2 separate regions of the Homo sapiens genome follow, and region 2 is linked to region 1. Evidence: promoter capture Hi-C in 16 types of primary human blood cells and fetal thymus (Javierre and others, 2016). All regions are on one chromosome and are shown on one strand. The core of a region is centred on a gene start or on the middle of the fragment in contact, and the rest is flanking DNA. Distances in the headings are between cores, read along the strand shown. Region 1 holds the start of ABHD14B (abhydrolase domain containing 14B). Region 2 overlaps CISH (cytokine inducible SH2 containing protein).

Region 1 (2,988 bases), core at 303-2,802:
CAGGAGGCAGAGGTTGCAGTGAGCCGAGAACGCGCCATTGCACTCCAGACTGGGCAACAAGAGAAAAACTCCATCTCAAAAAAACAAAAAACAGAAAAATTATCAGTGGGGGTGCCTGCTGTAAAACCTCAATATGTGGTGGGGCTCCATTACAATTACTGTTCTTATTCTCATCGTTATTATCCTTTTCTATAAATGGGGATAATTCAATAGTACTAGCTCATAGGTGGTTGATAGGATTAAATAAGGCCATGCATGTACCATGCCTAGCACGTAGTAAGGGCTCAGTGCTCAATCAACGGTAAGTTACAGGTCATGAGTTGTCAATGCAGGCCAGAGGGAGCCCAAATTGGGGTAAAAAGCCCATTTTATTTTATTTTATTCTATTTATTTATTTTGGGACAGAGTTTCACTCTTGTTGCCCAGAATGGAGTGCAGTGGCATGATCTCGGCTCACTGCAACCTCCACCTCCTGGGTTCAAGCGATTCTCCTGCCTCAGCCTCCCGAGTAGCTGGGTTTACAGGCGTGCGTCACCATGCCTGGCTAATTTTTTTTTTTTTTTTTTTGAGACGGAGTCTCGCTCTGTCGCCCAGGCTGGAGTGCAATGGCACATCTCCGCTCACTGCAAGCTCCGCCTCCCGGGTTCACGCCATTCTCCTGCCTCAGCCTCCCGGGTAGCTGGGACTACAGGCACGCGCCACCACGCCCGGCTAATTTTTTGTTTTTTTTTTTTTAGTACAGACGGGGTTTCGCCGTGTTAGCCAGGGTGGTCTCGATCTCCTGACCTCGTGATCCGCCCGCCTCAGCCTCCCAAAGTGCTGGGATTACAGGCGTGAGCCACCGTGCACGGCCTAATTTTTATATTTTTAGTAGAAACGGGGTTTCATCATGTTGGCCGAGCTGGTCCGGAACTCCTGACCTCAAGTGATCCACCCACCTTGGCCTCCCAAAGTGCTGGGATTACAGGCGTGAGCCACCGCGCCGGAACTAAAAGCCCATTTTCTTCGGTTTTTTTTTTTTTCTTTTTTTTTTTTTTAAGAGAAGATGTCTCGCTCTGTCGTCCAGGCTGGAGTGCAGTGGCGCAATCATGGATCACTGCAGCCTTGACCTTCCTGGGCTCAAGTGATCCTCCCGGCTCACCCCCAGTAGCTGGAACCACAGGCGCGCTTCCACACCGGAAAGCCCATTTTCTAGAGGCGGAAACCGAAGCGCCCAGTGGGAAAGGCGACCCGCCGGGGATGCGGGGTGCTCAACGCGCTGCCACCTGGGGCCCAACGCGTTGACCTCGCGGTCAGGTTGCTTCCGCGGACTACGGTTCTGGCTCGCTAGCTCTGGAAGGGAGCACCGGGAGGGAATGGTGGCAACTCCCAAGGAGGGGACCCAGGGATCCGAGAAAGGAAGACTTGGGGTAGGTGGGGTTGGATTTTGACTGGAGAGAAGAAAGGGTCAGGAGTGCAGGGCGGGTACCTGGGGAGCTGCGTGGACTCGCGCAGACGGGAAGCAGGCGCGTGCTGGCGGTGACCTGGGGCCGGAGGAGGAACGCTGGGAAGAGGCCGGGCCCCATCCAGCGGGGGCGGGGACTGGGCCGTGCTCCGGGGCGCCCTCTTGTGGCCACAAGCTCGCAGCGTCCATAGACTCCGCTAAACTCGTTCTCACAGCGGCGTCAGTTTCCCAAAGCCTCTCGGTCTCACATGCCCCAAACGCGGTGCTGAGCACGGTTTCGAACTCTTCAGCGACCTGCCCCACATGGACATGGAGCAGTCTGAGGAGGAAAGTTCCTTCGGGATCGCATCCTTGCTGCTGTCTTCCTGCTCCCCATCCCCCTTATCCCCAGCTTGAACTGCCCAGGGCAACTTGTTGGCCTGGCACGGAGTTGAGGCCCGACAGGTTTGAGTGCGAGGCTCCGCCAGTGTCCAGCCAAGTGGCCTTGATCGTTTTCCCAATGCCCCCGAGCCTGTTTCCTGCCAGTAGAGCGGGTCAGATGTTGCCAACCTCTGCAGAGTAGCAATAAGCAGTAAACGCCACGCTCTGCACAGCCTCCCAGTGCTGGGCCTGGTCGCCACGCGGAGCCTTGGGCTGGGACAGGCCAGACGTTGGTAACACATCGCCAACCAGGGCAGGCGCCATGAGTAGACGTGAACGAGCCCAGGGCCAGCCCAGGCTCTGACCGTGGGTGTGCGTCGGGGAGGGGGTGGGGAGGAGTGGGTAGGAGTCAGGAAAGTGGGTCGGCCAAGACCTGGAGCTGCTGCATAACAATATCTGGCATTTACACAACGAGGCCTCTGCTCCGGACACTGTTCTGAGGCTTGACCCGTCCTTAAGAACCTAGGACAACCCTGTGCGGTGGGTTTTATCCTTAACTCCATTATACAGGCCAGAGAACTGAGCCAGGGTGGAGATGTTCCACTGAGAAGAAGCCACATGGCTCTCCGCCGGCTCTCAAGCCAAAAACAGTTCCGAAAATCTGGGCGGGGAGCGGGCCAGAGAGCGCTGGGGCTCTGCCCCCAGCACCCCCTCCACGCAGACGACTCGGTAACTGGGTTGCAGGCCCGCGGCTGCGGAGTGCGCAGGCGCGCCGAGATGGCCGCGCTCCTGGCCGCCTAGAGCCGGAGCGGCCCGCGGAGCTGCGGAGGCAGCCATGGTCGGGGCGCTGTGCGGCTGCTGGTTCCGCCTGGGCGGGGCCCGCCCGCTCATCCCGTTGGGCCCGGTGAGTCTCCCGGGGGAGGGAGGCCGGCCGGTGGCCCAGGGGAGGGCCGTCTTTACCCCGCCCCTTGCCCCGGCGCCCCGGGGCAGAGTCCCGCGGAAGAAGCAGACGCTGGGGCCGCGAATGTGCATGTGCGCGCGTGTAATGTGTGTGCGCGCGCAGGGTCTGCATATGTTCTTGGGGGTCTGGGTGTATGTGTACGCTTGTGTGTCTGCATGGTGTCCGTCAGTGGGTTTCTGCGCGCTTATATTTTTGGGGGGGGGGTGTGTTCGTTGATGTCTGC
Region 2 (2,884 bases), core at 1-2,500, 1.4 Mb before region 1:
TCAGAGCTGGAAGGGGTACTGTCGGAGGTAGTCGGCCATGCGCCGGGGCAGTGGCAGGCAGTCCACGTCGGCCACCAGACGGTTGATGACAAGGCGGCACAGGTGTTGCAGGCTGCGGGCACTGCTTCTGCGTACAAAGGGCTGCACCAGTTTTAGGTGTACAGCAGTGGCTGGTGGAGGAGCAGGCAGTGCTGGGTCACTAGGCGCATCCTCCTTAGGCATAGGCAGGGCCGGGGTGGGAGCAGGATCGGGGCTGTCGCTTCGGGTATCAGCAGTGCAGGAGGCCACATAGTGCTGCACAAGGCTGACCACATCCGGAAAGGCCAGGATGCGTGGCCTGGACAAGCAGTTGGAGTCCAGACGGAAGCTGGAGTCGGCATACTCAATGCGTACATTGGTGGGGCCACGAGTGGTTTTCACTGACAGCGTGAACAGGTAGCTGGGGTGCGTGCTGTCACGTACTAAGAACGTGCCTTCTGGCATCTTCTGCAGGTGTTGTCGGGCCTCGCTGGCCGTAATGGAACCCCAATACCAGCCTAGGCAAGTGCAGAGGGGGCCAAGGGACATAGTGGAAATTAGCTGGGGTAACCAATCCAGTGCAAGTCAAGGCAGTGCCTCCAGCTTCACGCTTCCCTAGAGAGGGCTGTGCCTCTCCCATCAGACTCTCCTGGGCCGGGCTATGCCTCCCAAATCAGACTCAAAGGCAGAACTAAGCTTCTCCCACCAGACTACTCAGGAAAAGGCCTGCCTCCCCCCTCAGACTCACCAGATTCCCGAAGGTAGGAGAAGGTCTTGGCTATGCACAGCAGATCCTCCTCTGGGTCCAGCACCTTTGGCTCACTCTCTGTCTGGGCTGGGGTACCCTCTGCCACCTCCTCGAGGAAGGCCCCAGCAGGCAAGGGCTGCATGACTGGCTTGGGCAGTTCCAGGGACGGGGCCCACAGGGGCCGCTGCCCAGTCCGCTCCACAGCCAGCAAAGGACGAGGTCTAGAAGGCAGTGGATGAGCAGTGAGTGGAGGACCCATGCTTCCCCCATCTCCAGAGACCCCCCTATGCCCCAGACTAGTTTCATGACCTCTGGCTGGCCCATCTCACTATGAGCCTCAGCTTCCCCTCTACCCAGCCATGGGCTCAGTTAGTCCAGTATCTCGTTCCCCACTTGTCATCACAAAAGCCACCTTGATTGTTTCCATGTGGGGATCCTCTTTTGAAAGATTCTTTTCCACTGCCCTGCATTTACTAAACAGTAATTAATTGCTCTCTATTTTATATCAACCAAAAACACAGATCATTCCCTATAGGCATGTCTAATGTTCTCACCACACTGATAGGATTCAGTGCAAAGTAGCTTCATGTTTGTGCCCTCCTGGCTGAAGTGGGCTGATTAAATGGCCCACTGATGAATGGTCCTAGTTGAGATAGATCTACGACAGACAAGTAGATTTATCCTATGATAGATCTGTGTGGGGTCCTCCAGAGAAGCCCCAGGATTATGGTAGGCTGCCTGAGGTCACACGCTACCTCCCCATGGATAGGAGTGTCTCTCAGAGGGACCTAGGTCCACACTGGCCAGGACTTAGAGACTGAAATAATCCCCTACCCATACAAGTCAGCCTATCCTGGCCTCTGCTTCTCCCAGTGGAGGGTCTGGGGTGGACAGTGGCCTCTAAAGGCACTGGCAAGTCTCACCTCCTGTCAGTATGAGCTCCCACCAAGGGCAGGGACCTAATCCACACTCCAGTTCCCACCCTGGCAAGCCAGCCCTACCAGGCTCTACGATCTTGTACAAAGCTTGCTCTTCACTGGGCTTCAGTTTCCCTTTTCCGCAATAAAGGGTCCCACCAACCCATGCACTGAGAGGTTCAGTAACACCATATTCTTGGATGGCTGGGGTTGGGGGAACTGAGCCGACCAAAATCTGAGTAGCAGCTTTCTCCTAGGGGAAGCCCACCCAGCAGGGTGATACTAGGGCTTCCTCCTTGGGAGGGCAGCAGGGACTGGCTCTACTTCCCCAGGAAGACAGCTGCTCCTCCCTCACTCCTTGCAAAATACATCTCCAAGCCTTAGTTCTGGGTCTAGTCCCTGGCTGGGCCTCAGGACACCGCCATAATGAAACCATGGCCTTGCCCTCAAGGAGAACCAGACTGGCTGGGGAAGATGACACTAAGAGTAATTATAATGCAAAGTCATAAAACTGCAGGTGTCACGGGGGAGTCAGGGTCTGCTTGCTCCTGAGCTGTGTCTTCCAGGCCAAAGGAAGGAGCTGGGGGAAGGGACCCCAGGTAGAGAGGACAGCATGGGCAAACAGCGCCAGTATTGCTTGTGAGGCAGGAAGGCGCAGGCAGGAGCTGGTGGCAGGAGCCAGACCTGACTCCTGTGTAGGTTATAGGTGACCCTCTAGGTTCTAACAAATCATGGCCCTATGACCACTCACAGTGAGAAAGGGCCACACAACTCTGGCACACCACAGCCTGACAAAAACTTTTCCACACCTACCCTGGCTGTACTGTGGGATCTTGGAAATCCCTCTTGGAGAGCTGGAGGCCAAATTTTGAGATGACCTGCTTGCTGGGGCCCAGAGCTACCTTCCCAGGAGCATGGTTGGTGGCTAGCCAGTCAGGCTGGAACCTCTGTGGGTGGCCACGTCCAGATAGCTTAGCCGGTCCTCAGATCCCACATGTAGGTGTGGGCACCTTTGGGGCTGATGTGGTAGCTGGGTGTATGAATAGCTGTGTTGATCACCACAAGCTCCTGGTGAGTGTGTACCTGGGCAGGGGTGTGTCCATGGCTGTGTCATCATCATGGTGGGGACAGTGGCTGGTGTGTTCTAGGTACATGTGTGTGCCCGCTTTGGAGCGCAGCAGTCTAAAACTTTGTTCCCTGA

Evidence for each region. Contacts are between HindIII fragments. The CHiCAGO score rates a contact against its expected background, and 5 or more counts as called.
Region 2: a contact is called between a fragment that was not itself captured here and the fragment with the promoter of ABHD14B in region 1, in 1 of 17 cell types (erythroblasts). The highest score is 6.9, in erythroblasts.

Annotation. Positions count from the first base shown.
Region 1 is chr3:51,972,497-51,975,484 of GRCh38, forward strand. It overlaps ABHD14B (abhydrolase domain containing 14B), which reads right to left and starts at 1,553. Exons shown (of 4, transcript NM_001146314.2): 1 at 1,469-1,553. ABHD14A-ACY1 (ABHD14A-ACY1 readthrough) reads left to right here and starts at 2,568. Exons shown (of 17, transcript NM_001316331.2): 1 at 2,568-2,708. It overlaps ABHD14A (abhydrolase domain containing 14A), which reads left to right and starts at 2,568. Exons shown (of 5, transcript NM_015407.5): 1 at 2,568-2,708. The coding sequence starts at 2,640. RefSeq lists enhancers at 742-1,678, 1,712-1,891 and silencers at 1,122-1,271, 1,492-1,661, 2,492-2,871. The HindIII fragment of the contact is 8,219 bases long and covers 1-2,988 here.
Region 2 is chr3:50,607,607-50,610,490 of GRCh38, forward strand. CISH (cytokine inducible SH2 containing protein) reads right to left here. Exons shown (of 3, transcript NM_145071.4): 2 at 767-987; 3 at 1-536. The coding sequence ends at 1. Among named protein-coding and RNA genes, the nearest start is that of CISH, 2.7 kb to the right of the region's middle. The HindIII fragment of the contact is 1,077 bases long and covers 713-1,789 here.